Regions from separate parts of the Homo sapiens genome. Here region 1 is linked to region 2. The links are contacts of gene promoters, found by promoter capture Hi-C in blood cells and fetal thymus (Javierre and others, 2016). All regions are on one chromosome and are shown on one strand. The core of a region is centred on a gene start or on the middle of the fragment in contact, and the rest is flanking DNA. Distances in the headings are between cores, read along the strand shown. Region 1 overlaps ZNF862 (zinc finger protein 862). Region 2 holds the start of ATG9B (autophagy related 9B).

Evidence for each region. Contacts are between HindIII fragments. The CHiCAGO score rates a contact against its expected background, and 5 or more counts as called.
Region 1: a fragment that was not itself captured here is called in contact with the fragment with the promoter of ATG9B in region 2 in 1 of 17 cell types (non-activated CD4 T cells); the score reaches 5.3 in non-activated CD4 T cells.

The regions. Positions count from the first base shown.
Region 1 is chr7:149,863,979-149,870,658 of GRCh38, forward strand. It overlaps ZNF862 (zinc finger protein 862), which reads left to right. Exons shown (of 8, transcript NM_001099220.3): 8 at 131-3,501. The coding sequence ends at 306. ATP6V0E2-AS1 (ATP6V0E2 antisense RNA 1) reads right to left here. Exons shown (of 4, transcript NR_027040.1): 3 at 6,264-6,373; 4 at 3,716-5,880. Among named protein-coding and RNA genes, the nearest start is that of ATP6V0E2-AS1, 6.5 kb to the right of the region's middle. The HindIII fragment of the contact is 5,608 bases long and covers 38-5,645 here.
Region 2 is chr7:151,020,179-151,026,761 of GRCh38, forward strand. It overlaps ATG9B (autophagy related 9B), which reads right to left and starts at 4,316. Exons shown (of 14, transcript NM_001317056.2): 1 at 3,696-4,316; 2 at 3,509-3,552; 3 at 3,267-3,331; 4 at 2,867-3,028; 5 at 1,010-1,151. The coding sequence starts at 4,245. It overlaps LOC124901777 (a long non-coding RNA gene), which reads right to left. Exons shown (of 3, transcript XR_007060593.1): 3 at 4,817-4,855. RefSeq lists enhancers at 5,227-5,831, 6,437-6,583. The HindIII fragment of the contact is 8,592 bases long and covers 2,759-6,583 here.

The DNA of each region.
Region 1 (6,680 bases), core at 1,592-4,091, 1.2 Mb before region 2:
AGAGCAGTCGTGGTCCTGACTTCAGTCTGTTCTGCCAAGCTTTCCTCACCAAACAGCCCCTGGGCGAAGCTGGATGTGGAAGGCGGTCACTGTCAGTCAGTCTAATTGTATTCTCCTTCCTCCCTCACAGGCGCCAGGCTCAGGAAGGAGGAGATGGGAGCCCTCTATGTGGAGGAGCCCAGGACCCAGAAGCCACCCATCCTGCCCTCCAGGGAAGCAGCGGAGGTTCTGAAGGACTGCATCATGGAGCCTCCCGAGAGACTCCTGTATCCCCACACCAGCCAGGAGGCCCCCGGGATGTCCTGAGGGACAGGGAGTCCTTGGGACTGCCTTGGAGACGCCTCTGTGATCACTGGGACAGGCTCTGCAGATTCTAGGCTGCCCTAGGATCTTCTGCTGGTGGCGATGGTCTCTAAGCACCAGGAAGTGGGCAGTGGCATCCCAGAGCAGCAGGGGTATCAGGAGGTGCATGACCTGTTTCCTGAGGCCCCACTCAGCACAGCCATGCCTCACAGCACACAAATGTGCCAGAAGGTTCTATATCTCAAGTTCATTTTTAAGGTGCTGCAGAAAATAACCCCATCATGAAAGGTTTCAGCCCCTGAGTTTTGGTGGCAAGAGGAGTGTCCTGGTAGGGGAGACTGTTGGACATCCCTGGGGAATGTTCCAGGGAGGCTGCCCACAGTCTAAGTGGGAATGGGAAAGACCACCTTGTTAGAGGGGGAGGTTGCCCCTGCTCTAGGGACAGCTGGCCTGGCTGCAAGAGCCCCCAGAGGCATTGTTCTGGGACTTCCTACCCTGGCTCCCACAGCAGAAGCAGTGAGGCCGTGGTCTCGTGCGGAACTCTACCTCTTCCCAGGGCTTCCTTTAGGGCGAAACAATCACAAGCCCTTTGCACAGAGCACCCAAGAAAGTTCTCTTCCTGCAGCTCCAGATGGTGGAGCTGGGCTCTTCTGGCAGGGGGTCTGGTGCTTCCCGGAGAGCCGAGCCGCGTTTAACCCGTGGCATGCCCGGCCCGGTTTACCCAGGAGAGGATGGGACGAAGTTGGAGTTGGGAGGCTTGGGATGCAGCCCCAGCTCTGCTGCAGGCAGTGGTCTGATTAATCCCTTCCTCTTTGTGCCTCAGTTTCCCTCTCCATGAAGTGGCAGCAGAGATCCAAGTGCCTGCTGACTCCCCATCTGCCCTAGGATTAGTGAATGAGAGCCTCGAGCTCCCTCAAAGACCTCTGGCTGCAGTGTGGACTTAGCTGCCATCTGCCCCATCCTCGTCCTTAGTGGGACAGGTAGGAATTTGTCTCCAAAGTCCTTGTTGTAGGAGTTGCTCTCTGAATGCACCATCTGCACGACAGGCTAGTCCACTCTTCTCTGAGCTGCCCTGGGGACTCTGCACCAGGATCTCCAGGGCCCACTGAGACATCCCCGAATGGGCGCTCAGTGACAAGGGCTTTGAACAACCTCCTCCAGGGACTTTGGGCCTGCTCTAGCTTCAGAACCACAGAACCACCGCCCTAGAGGCACAGAGGGGCTTCTGGCACTGCTAGGTTCACACCCTCCTCGCCCCGATCTTCCTTCCACCTAAAGTGAAGCACTTTTCCTTCCAAGGGCAGCTCCGTCTTGGCAGGCTCAGGAGGCCGCTTATCAGGAGGAGGATGATTTTGTCTAGGTTCTGCCTTCCTTAACCATGGGCAGGAAATGAGGCAAGTCAGCAGGCAGGGTTTCTCTGCCCTGCCTGATACTTGTTTTAAACAGGCAGGAAGTGGGCGCCATCCATCCCAGCTTGCTTGCTGCCTGGCTCAGGCAGGTCCTGTGCTGTGCTGCAGGCCCCTGTGGGTGGGCCCTTTCTCCATAGTCTGCCGCTTCCCATTCCCAGGGTAGATGCTGGCATCTGAGCACCTGAGTACCCTTCCTATTCCCAGGGTAGAAGCTGCTGTCTGAGTACCCTTCCCATTCCCAGGGTAGATGCTGGCATCTGAGCACCTGAGTACCCTTCCTATTCCCAGGGTAGAAGCTGCTGTCTGAGTACCCTTCCCATTCCCAGGGTAGATGCTGGCGTCCGAGCCCCTCCCTGGTACCGCAGGTACCCTGGTACCCCACCTGCCCTTTCATCCCCACCCCAGTACTTAGCCTTAGCACTGTTGCTTTCGTGTCATTTTCAGTTCTAGTCAGGAATTCCTTTCTTGCTTTCTGCCTTTGACCTGTGGAAATGTCTCCCAGCCCTGTGGGTCTGGCGGTCAGAGGGACCCCACAGGCCTGTGGTGCGGGAGCTCTGGGAGGTGTTACTATCTGCGTGGCTAAGGCACACACAGGCCTCCTTCTCCCCATCACCGTCTCCATGGGCGTTCAGGAACTTGCCCAGGTCAGGCACTGTGGATGTGAACTCGTGGAAAGGGAGGGAGAAAGGCTTTTTTAGGTGGGGCTATAGCCTCTGCCCTACCCACAGGGATTCCACATCAAGGTGCTGTTCCAGCACACATGCTTCCTGCGGCCTCTTCATCCTTGAAGAATCCCTCAGAGCAGGAGGCCATCCTGTGAGCAGCCGTGAGTGGGTCTCTGTGGGAGTAGTTCTGGAGCTGAGGTGGAAGCTAGGGGAAGCAACTCGCCCTCTCCACGTCAGCATCAGCGTGCTCCGAGGACACCGGCCAGTGCCTTCCTTAGGTGGTGGGAAAGGGGGGTCCCTGTGCAGCGGGGCCACTGAGAATGCTGTTTGTCATAAAATTTGCACTACCCGATTTCTCAAGGGGCACAGGCCTGCTCCGTTCCCCTTTGTCAGCCAATGGCCAAGAAGGAAGAAGATGACTGCCATCTTATTCCTGAACTTCCTCATTCAGGACCCCCGTGGAAACACAGTGAGCATCCTTATCAGAGGCCCTGGCCCAGGCTGGCCCCTTTGCTTTGTTTGGAGAGGCTGGCTGAGTTTCAGCCCCTAGTGCTGGAGACCCCCTTGTTGGAGAGGCTTCCTGTTTATGCCTCACAAGAAGAAAAACCACAGGGCTCTGGGAGGGGAAGAAGCATGCACTCCCGCTTTGGCTGGAGTCCCAGCGCTTGTCGCCACCCTCCTCCTTGCCTGTAGTCTTGACAGCATCCGTATGTACGTGTCCTGGCATTTCCCCTCCCTCTCCCTGATGACTGATACCCACCGGGTCTGACATTCCAAGTAACCAGTATGTAACTGGTAGTTTGATCCCAATAGCCATAGCGACTCCAGGTGGGAGTGAGGGAGCCCAGCCCCCTGTCCTGGAAGATACCTTAGAGTATGTGACCGCGCTCCAGACCCTTGCTTCTCTCTCCTGCAGAGGATGAGTTTCTAGGGTGCTAAGTACCTATCAGAACAGTGTGGAGGGGCGGGTCCCTCATACAGGTGTGTGCTTAGCCAAATACAGTAACTGTGACTGGCCCAGGGATGTTCTCTCCTCTATTTTCAAAGATGAAAGGAGGTTTTAAAAACCATGTTTGATTCCTAACCTTTTGCTACCTGAATAAAGCAGAGTCTATTTCAACACATCTCTGTCTTGTGTGTCCCTAAGCGAGGACCAGGAGCTCAGAGAAGCTGACAGAACGAGCTCTGCTCTCACTCACGAGGGGACAGGGCCAGGAACAGAGGTGGGCAGGGGAAGTGCCTGTGTATTCACCTGATTTTTGTCTTTCAGTTTCTTTCCTCTCTAGTCCTTCAAAGTGAGCTCAATCATTTTTGCCAGTTAGAAGGTAAAGATGAGAGTTGGCTGTTTGGTGAGTTATAATTAAGGGCTTGGCTGCCTTTTCTGGAGTACTGCATAGTTTACAAAGTGCTTTCACATACATGATCTAATTTGGTTTACTGAACTTAGAAAGGTAGACTTTCAAGGAAAAAACATCGATTTCCACCAATAGTAAAAGCTACTGCATCAGACCTGTCACTCAACAGCGCTCCTTGAGGCCTAGCTCCTGAGATCCCTCTGGCGAGCCCTTGCGGCTCCACATCCTCGGGACGGCACGCTCCCACGGGACTGGAGCAAAGGTTTCAGAGACTCGGGATACAGCCAGATCTCTTCGGTGAGGAGACTCAGTCTTACTCGAGTGTATGTGATTTTTAAAAAAGACATTGAAACAACTATGGAAACAGAGGCAAAGGCAGCAAGGCTTTGGGTTTGCGACTGGGAATCCGTGCGGCCTCCCTTTGGTGAAGACCTGACCCCGTGGTGGGGGTGAACAGGGTTTCCTTGACCCCGTCCCAGGGTTCCCTTCAGGACAGATGGATTTCACTAGGGGAAGCGTGATGCTGGTAGCCTCCACTCTCAGGCTGGGCAGGGTAGGCTCCCAGGGAGGCAGCTCCCAGCGCAGCCTCTTCCATCACTCCGGCTGGAGCTAGAAGGAGAGAAGTGAGCTGAGGCTCTAGAAAGTGCTGCACTCCTGCCTTTCTTTTTCCCAAGGGTGCTCTTGACATCTGGAGTGCAGTCAGCAGGCCTTTCCGAGTGGGCTGGCTGCCTCAGATGCCTCAGTCCCTGTTGCTGGGGATGCTTCGGTGGGGCCTCCTCACTGTGGGCCTTCTCTTGGGTCAGTGTGATCCTCGTGTCCCTTCCCTGTGCCAGCGACACTCGTGGGCTTCACGTGGCTGGCCCCTGCTCCCAGGGCTCTTGAGATGCTGCCTCTGACTGCAGCTCCTGCCACACTGGCACCTGTGTGGCCGCTGCTCCCCTCTGCACCTGGGAATAGCTGCCCAGAGACTTCCTGTTTTGAACCTTTTGCCTTGCTCAGGCAGCCAGCAAGGGCCCTGGCACTCACAACAGAAGGGCCCTGCAGTGCTGCGGCTCTGCTGGCGGGCCAGGACAAGCTGTGGGGCGCAGACACACTGGGCACACTCCAGACAGGCACAGGGCCTCTGGGCAGTGAGTTTGCAAGTGTTTTGTGGTCCTGGATCATGCACAGGCTTCTTGGCAGCCAGGAGAGGCTGTCTCTGCATTTAGTGTGCACACCTGAAAGAGCGGCCCCTCACCCACTAGGCAGTGTCCTCCCACATCCCCAGGAGGGTCTTCCTGTGCCATCTGAGGTCCACTTAGTGGAAAGCCTTTGCCACACCAGGACACTTTCAGGACTACTCCCCCACGTGGCTGTGCTCATGGTGGCCAGGGCTATATGGCTCTTGAAGCTCTCCACACACTTGGCACAGATGGATGGCTTTTCCAGTGGAATCAAAAGGACTCAGGCATTCTGAGGCCAGTCTGGCCTTGGGGTTTTTCAGCTTCCCAGAAGCCTGCAGAATCGTTCTGGGGGGTTCCCAGTTGCCTCCAGAATCATCTTCAGTCTTGTTTCTGACTGTGTTACCAAATACTGTGGAAGAAACTCAGATGTTAGCCTAGTGATGGGGACACACTTCTTTTGTTCAGTGTGACCTGCTCAGCCTCTAGCCCCCAGCCCCAGCGAGATGACGGATAAGGCAGCGTCCTGTGGATGCCAGAGCCGGGGCCAAGTGTGGGTCAGCATCCCAGCTCAGAGGAGCGGCCCAGTTTGTCTGAGAACACTGAAGTCCCAGAGCCCTGGGGAGGGGCTTCTGACCAGCACTCCTCCTGCTCTCATTCCAACACACACAAAGGGAATGTCCTGGTCCAGGGAGCCAGGGCTCTCTTGCTGCCATGTGAATAATTCCCTGTAGCAGCCACTGCTAGACAGCAAGCTTGGGAAGCCTTCTTATGCAGAAATCAAAGTCATTTTTATAAAAAGTGTCACAGAGTCCCTTATGAAGACAGCTGGACAGAGCAGGAGCCGACCCTTCCCTGACTGCCCAGTTCAGTGAGCCCGGTAAAATATCTGCCGTCAGCAGCCTGCCATGAGGTGCAGTGAGGACCTTCTACTTCATCCCTCCAAGCTGAGTCGTATCATAAAATGCATACTTTATGTTCCTTCTGCCTGTAGAGAATCAGAAAGCACATGATGGAGGTTTCAGAAAAGGGCTTGTGAGATCGAGCATGTCAGAGCTGAAGATCTGTGTCTGTGAGACATGTCCTCCTGAAAGAGCACACATGAGCTGACATAGCCACGGCGCCGGATTGCCCTCACCCTGATTGTCCCATCAGTGTAGCTTGTCTCAAGAGGTTTACACTGTGGCTGTGTTTCTCACAGGTTACCCAAACTCCTATCATAAAGGCAGGAAACAGAAGTAAAAAACCTGAATCCAAACCACAGGAAGTGCTGCGGAGATACTGATTCGTGGGTTGATCAGAGCCCAGGAGGCACTAAAGGCTCAATGAACATGGTGATCTTTGTGCAAGAGATGTTCCATCAAGGCTTACCTGGCTGGGTGGTAGCTTTTTGGCCTCTGTTGGGGGCTGGGAATCCTTCACCCAAAGCTCATGTTCCCTTTCAAGTCTACAAGTGATCTCTGGTTTGGCAGCAGCATGCACTGTAGGGAGAAAGACAGCCCAGTGCCCCTCAACCCACACTGAGCGCACATAGACCCGTGTCAGTCCTGAAGCCTGACTTGCACCACCCATTTAATGCCCTGGGCTCACCCTATCAATTTGGGACAGCGGGGGTAGGTTGTAAACCTAAGAGAGCTCCAGAAGTAGGCAGGGCCTGGCATACAGGTAGGGATGTTTATTTCAGGGCAACTTCAGGAGTGCCAAGGGCTGATAAAACAGTGCAATTGTCATAATATGTTTTCCCACTGCCAGGGCCCTTGAAGGAGAAACAGGCTCAACTAGTCACAG
Region 2 (6,583 bases), core at 3,066-5,565:
TCCCAGGACCTGGGCTATGTCCACATCTGGCAGTGGGGCACTGTCAGATCTCATTTGAAGGCTGCAAACCTCACTTCAGCCCAGTTTCACTCAGCTTTCCCAGTCCAGGTTAGTCAAGTCCCCCAGGCTGGCCTCTCCAGTACATCCCAGTGTCTTCCCTTCCCTTCCCCTGGAAGGAACAGGGGAGGAGGGGAAAGAAGGGAGGAGGAGAACGAGACGGGTGAGCAGTCTCCCGCCAGAGCCAATCCGAGGTCCAGCTTCCGCTCTCACCACCTCTGCTTCCCCGGCCTCCTCCCTCTCCTCTGCTCAGGGGCCTTCTAAGACCTCTCCCCTTGCTGCACATAAAGGCTGTGCAGAGGGCTCCGGACCTCCCAGGGGAGCAAGGGAAGCAAGCTGCAGAAGGCTACTTTCAAGCTGTGCCTCAAAGAAAGAACTTAGATACAGAGGAGGGAGGAGCAGACTCAAGATGGTGAGGAAACAAAGGGCAGAGCATAAGCAGTGGACAGTGACAGGCCAATGCAGTGGCTTCCTGCAATGCGGGGGATGGCTTTGAAGGCTCTGTTTTAGGCTGATGGGTCCATCTCCTCACTGCAGCTTCCAAAAGCTCATGGCTTTTCCCCACCTTCCTGCACTGGGGCTTAGAATGTGCTCCCCTCCCCTCCTGTCCTGCCCTTCCGAAGCCCAACCCAAATTCCTCCAGCTCTGAAAAGCCAGATAACTGCCCTTTCTCTTTTCTCTAATCAATGTTTTTAGCACAAACATGTAACTATATGTCATCTTATATGAGCCATCTAAATAAACTAAACTCCCTTAGGGTAAGGGCCATGCTCTCTAGGTGGTGGTAGCCCCCTCCTGACATTATTCTGGGCCTAGGGCAGGTGTCAATAAGACCTCGCTCTTTCTGCCCTCTTTCCAGTTGGCCCTTCCACCTGTACAGTCCCACTTCTTCCCCTCTCCTCTGCCCACCCTCTCACGGCACCCTCTGCACAGACACAGCCACCCAGCTCACCGGGGGGATGTGCAGGGCCTCCCTGTAAAACACCTGGATGTCCCAGTAGCTGAAGAGGTTGCAGACTGAGCGAAGCAGTTGGACCAGCCAGAAGCCGGCAGCCAGGACCAGGAGGAGGACCAGCAGCGGGCTGGAGCGGATCCTGTATGGGGTTGGGCGGGCAGTGGGGGAGAAAGGTGGGCGCCTGAGAAAGAGGCAGACCAGACTTCGGGAGTGAGGAAAAACCATCATGAGGAGGGGGATCTAGCTAGACCAGCAGCTCTCAAGGTAGAGCCCGGGGCAGGGGGTGGGTGCTGAAGTGGCCTTCACAAATGTGCAAAGTCAAACTTTTTCCAAATAATACTAATGCTTTCTGATGTTTTCATTCTTGTACTCTGAGAGTACAGTGGAGTTTTCCAGAGGCTACAAGACACGTGAACATGTCACATCACACTGACAGCTGATGAAATGTGTGCTTGTACACTCTTTTTTTTTTTTTTTGAGATGGAGTCTTGCTGTGTCGCCCAGGCTGGAGTGCAGTGGCGCAATCTTGGCTCACTGCAACCTCCACCTCCCGGGTTCAAATGATTCTCCTGTCTCAGCCTCCAGGGTAGCTGGGACTACAGGCGCCCGCCACCACACCTGGCTAATTTTTGTATATTTTAGTAGAGACAGGGTTTCACCATGTTGGCCAGAATGGTTTTGATCTCCTGACCTTGTGATCCGCCCGCCTCGGCCTCCCAAAGTGCTGAGATTACAGGTGTGAGCCACCACGCCCAGCCGCACTCTTACATTTTAAAGTTGTTCTCAGCTACAATTTCCTTCTTTTTTTTTTTTCCTTTTTATTGAAACAAGGTCTCTCTCTGTTACCCAGGCTGTAGTGCAGCAGTAGAAACATAGCTCCTATCTCCCTGCCAAATAACGGCCCAGGTCTGGAACAGTTATTTGGTTGGTTGGCAAAGAGAACATTGCAATCCATGCTTCAGGGAGGAAGGTTGTGAAGGCAACAATGAAAATGAATCGTCTGCTGGGAGGGAGGAGGGTGTAGGGATGCTGCAGTGATCAGAGACAGTCACTGTCTTAGCCTCCTGACTAGGCTTAGCTAGGACTGCAGGTACGCACCACCAAGCCCAGCTAATTTTTATTTTTTATAGAGATGTGGTCTCACTTTGTTGCTCAGGCTGATCTCAAACTTCTGGCTTCAAGCAATCCTCCTGCCTCAGCCTCCCAAAGTGCTGGGATTACAGGTGTGAACCACTATGCCCGGCCTAATTTTAATTTTTTATAAGGTAAAATGTGGATAGATACGACTCCCATAAACAAAAGCTTTTCAGGATTCTCAACCAATTTTAAGTGTATTAAGATACACTTAATGCACTGTAATTAAGATACACTTAAAAGGCCGGGCACAGTGGCTCACACCTGTAATCCCAGCACTTTGGGAGGCCAAAGTGGGTGGATCACCTGAGGCCAGGAGTTCCAGACCAGCCTGGCCAACATGGTGAAACCCTGTCTCTACTAAAAATACACGTGGTGGTGCACGCCTATAATCCCAGCTACTGGGGAGGCTGAGGCAGGAGAATTGCTTGAACCTGGGAGGTGGAGGTTGCAGTGAGCCAAGACCTCACCATTGCACTCCAGCCTGAGCAACAAGAGTGAAACTCTGTCTTAAAAAAAAAAAAAGATATACTTAATACACTTTAAGTACAACTTAATACACTTAAGTACAACTTAAAGTATATTAAGTGTATTTTTGGTCCTAAGACCAAAAGCTTTGAGAACTGCTGATCTAGATGACGGGACAAAGTGGGGCTCCCGTCTACTCCTCTACCCACTGCCCATGCTTCACCCCCAGGGCCCCACCAGGTTGTCACTAACCTCTCAGCACACTGGGCTGAGGGTAGGATGGCATCTGACAGGGTCACTTTGCTGTGGAACGGCCCAGGTCTGGTATGGTTACTTGGTTGGTTGGCAAAGAGAACATTGTAATCCACGCATCGAAGGAGGAAGGTTGTGAAGGTGACAATGAAAATAAATTGTCTGCCGGGAGGAAGGGGGGGTGCCGGGATGCTGCAGTGATCAGGGACAGCCAGGTGGGCTCCTGCCCCAGCCCCCAGAGCAGCCCATGGTTATCCTCCCTGACCCTGCCCCTGCTGAGCCCTTGGGCTGCTCGGGAAAGCATGGGATGGAAGCAGCTGGCACAATTAAGGAAGCAAAATGACAGAAGGAAGCCATGGGCCCAGGGGACCGAGTTCCGGGCCCGGGCTAAGCGTCTCACCCCAGCTGGAAGACATCCTCCAGCAAGATGCAGGCAAAGCCATTCCGCTGGTGGTAGCTGTAGATGTGGCTGCGTGTCAAGGAACAAGCCTGAGGCACGGGGGGCCTCTCCTGAGGACACCTCCCCTCAGCCCCAACAAGTCTCCCACCCATGACGCCCTCACGGAGTCTCCCTGCCAAGAACAGTGCCAGCTCCAAGAGGACCTTCCCATGCCACCTCTGCAGGCCTAGCGCAAAGGATATCTTGGTGAAGAAACTGTCCAGGTTCTGGATGTGATGCCAGGAGCCTGGGCACAGAGGGGAGAGTGTCAGCCCCTGGCATGTGATCAATTCTCCACGTTCTCAACCCGCTGCCAGAGGCCCAGCCTGGGATAAGTACTGGAGCTCCCAGGCACCACTAACCCTCTCCCACCCACACCCACACACATACCTCGGAGCCCTTCAGGGACATGAAGCAGGGGTTGCTGCTCCTCCCCGTGGATGGGTGAGTCTTGGGACCCCTCAGGGTCACAGTCCTCCAGCCGCTCATAATCCTGTTCAGGGATCAAAGGGCCTACCCGCAGCCCAGGAGAGTCCTGGGGGCACTGCTGTGAGGGAGTGGGGGTTGCCGGGGCCAGGGGTGGGGTGGAGTGGGATCCCCAGGAGGGAGATGCAGAGGCAGGTGTCATTGCAGGTTGAGCCTGTGTTGGGGGGGTGGCTGGGATAGGGAGAGCACTGTGGCAAGACTGAGAAGCCCCTGTCCCCTGTAGCACTGAGCAAGGGGGCCCTGCGGTGGGAGGGGAAAATGAGGAGGGGGAGCTTCTTGTATGAGGGGCAGGGGACAGAGAGAAGATGGAGATCCTCCCTCCCCCAGGTCCCCGGCATGAAGGAGGAGGAGGAGGTGGCAGTGGCATGGGGAGGAGGGGCACCGATCCGGGCCCCAGATCTCCCCACCGCCCCAGCCGCCTTCTTCTCCCCCCCCAGCCCATTCGGCTCACCATCAGGCCACGGCTTCTCCAGAAAGGTTGGAAGGATGGGAGCTGTTGTTGCTTCCACAAAGGTCTGTGACACTGAGCTGGGACTTCAACAGGAACAATGACAACAACATTACTAGGTGACTCAGCCTAGGCAGGCCTCAGGCGTCCCAGCTCTCAGTCACCTGTCTGATCACTCACACCCCTTCCAGGGCAACCTGAGGCCAAATCCCTCAGGGCCTGAGAGGGGCATCAGTTTAAGAGGAGGGGCCAAAGAGCACATTGAGATGAGAAGATTCCTATTATCTCCATCTTCAGACCTTGAATGAATGAAAGATAAAAAGAACAGCAGCCAAAATGACAAAAGCAAAAAGCAAAATCGTGTTAGAGCCAGGTGTGGTGATGTGTGCTTGTGTTCCTAGCTACTCAAGAGACTGAGGTGGGAGGATGGCTTGGTGCAGGTTACACTGGAACAGTATAGGTTACAGTGAGCTAGATCCTGCCCCCTGCCACCCCCCCCAAAAACATCCTATTAAAGGATTGTAGCAGGGCGCAGTACCTCACACTTGTAATCAATCTCAGCACTTTGGGAAGCCGAGGAAAGAGGATTGCTTGAGGCCAGGAGTTCAAGACCAGCCTGGGGAACAGAATGAGAAGACTCCATCTCTACAACAAATCTTAGGACCAAGATGTTAACTATTTCATTTCTTAAGAGTGTACCTCCCCCACTTCCCTCCACACACACACTACAGTGATCAACAGAGAAATGTTTTGTGACCAAAACAGAAAAGAAGAAGTAAAGGGGCCAGGCATGTTGGCTTACACCCGTAATCCCAGGACTTTGGGAGGCCCGGGCGAGAGGATCACTTGAGGCCAGGAGTTCGAGACCAGCCTGAGCAACTTAGGGAAACACCATCTCTACAAAATCTAAAAAACAAACAAAATAATTTTTTTTCTTTTTGAGGCAGTCTCACTCTGTCACCCAGACTGGAGTATAGTGGCACAATCTCGGCTCACTGCAACCTCCGCCTCCCAAGTTCAAGTGATTCTTCTGCTTCAGCCTCCTGAGTAGCTGAGACTACAGGTGTGTGCCACCACACCCAGCTAATTTTTTGTATTTTTAGTAGAGATGGGGTTTCACCATGTTGGCCAGGCTGGTCTTGAACTCCTGACCTCGTGATCCACCCGCCTTGGCCTCCCAAAGTGCTGGCATTACAGGCGTGAGCCACTGCGCCTGGTCAAAAATAAATTTTTTAAAAAGAATAAGAAAAGGTTGCATGTTTTATTGGTCTGAGGTGCTAAGGAAGAGAAGAGGGGAGGCTGACTTTGCAGCCAAGTTGGGGAAAACTAAGAAGAGGAGGTGAAGAAAGGAAAGGCAGCTATCTTGGATTTGAGAGTTGGTTTGGAGAACTTAGAGTAGAAAATTGGGGTTCTCTGAAAGTTCCATTCCGTTTGCATCCTTATCATTTTCAACTGTGACATTCTCTCAAGTCCGGATCCCACTTCTGGGACCCCCTGAAAAGCATCAGGGCTGAATCAGAAGGGAGGACAGCTGTGAGTCTGGGACTTGGAAGGATAATTTGGATACCCAGGGAGGAGCTGAACTGAGTTCCTTGTTGTCACCTCAACAAGGAGGAGGAGACCCAGGCAGCTGGTCTGGTGGCTTGCCCAACGCCATTCTTGAGGCCCTGAATCACCAGGTTTCCTTCTAAAGCCCATTACTGAGATACTGACTCAGCCACCAGGTGTCAAGGTCTCTAGGGCTTAGGCCTAAGGGCTGATGTTGGGGCCAGTACCCCTGAAATGGCGATATGGACACTGTGCTTCCCAGATTGTTCACTGGAGGCAATCATGGAATCACCCACAAAACTTGAATCCAGATGTGCCTGATTTTCTCCTTCTGTGTGGGGTATTGTAGTAGTAGCTCAGGTCTTGCATGCCTTTATCTCAGAGTAGGAGGCAGAGCTATGAAAACAAGACCCTGTCCTTCTAGAGGTAGCAAAATGGAATCCCACATTGCAGAGGGGCCAGGAAATTCCCATAATCTTTCTGAGACATCTGTCAAGATGGGTTATGTGGGGTGTTGTCTAGTCTCTCCCCCACCTCACTCGCCCAATGTCACTCAGTATCGTGGCTATTCCACCATAGTCACAATAGGACCCCCCCATACACCAAGAGCTCCCCAGCTCAACCCCAAACTAATCCTGGGACATTGTCCTACCTAGTTTCACCCTGAATTCATTCTCATTGACAGCCTCCCTACCACCACTCCCAATTCAAGTCGATTTATTTTAAAGGGCACTTTTCCTTGCCAAGCATTTGGAAGGGAAGAGGACAGATGAATAAAACAGAGCCACTACCCAAG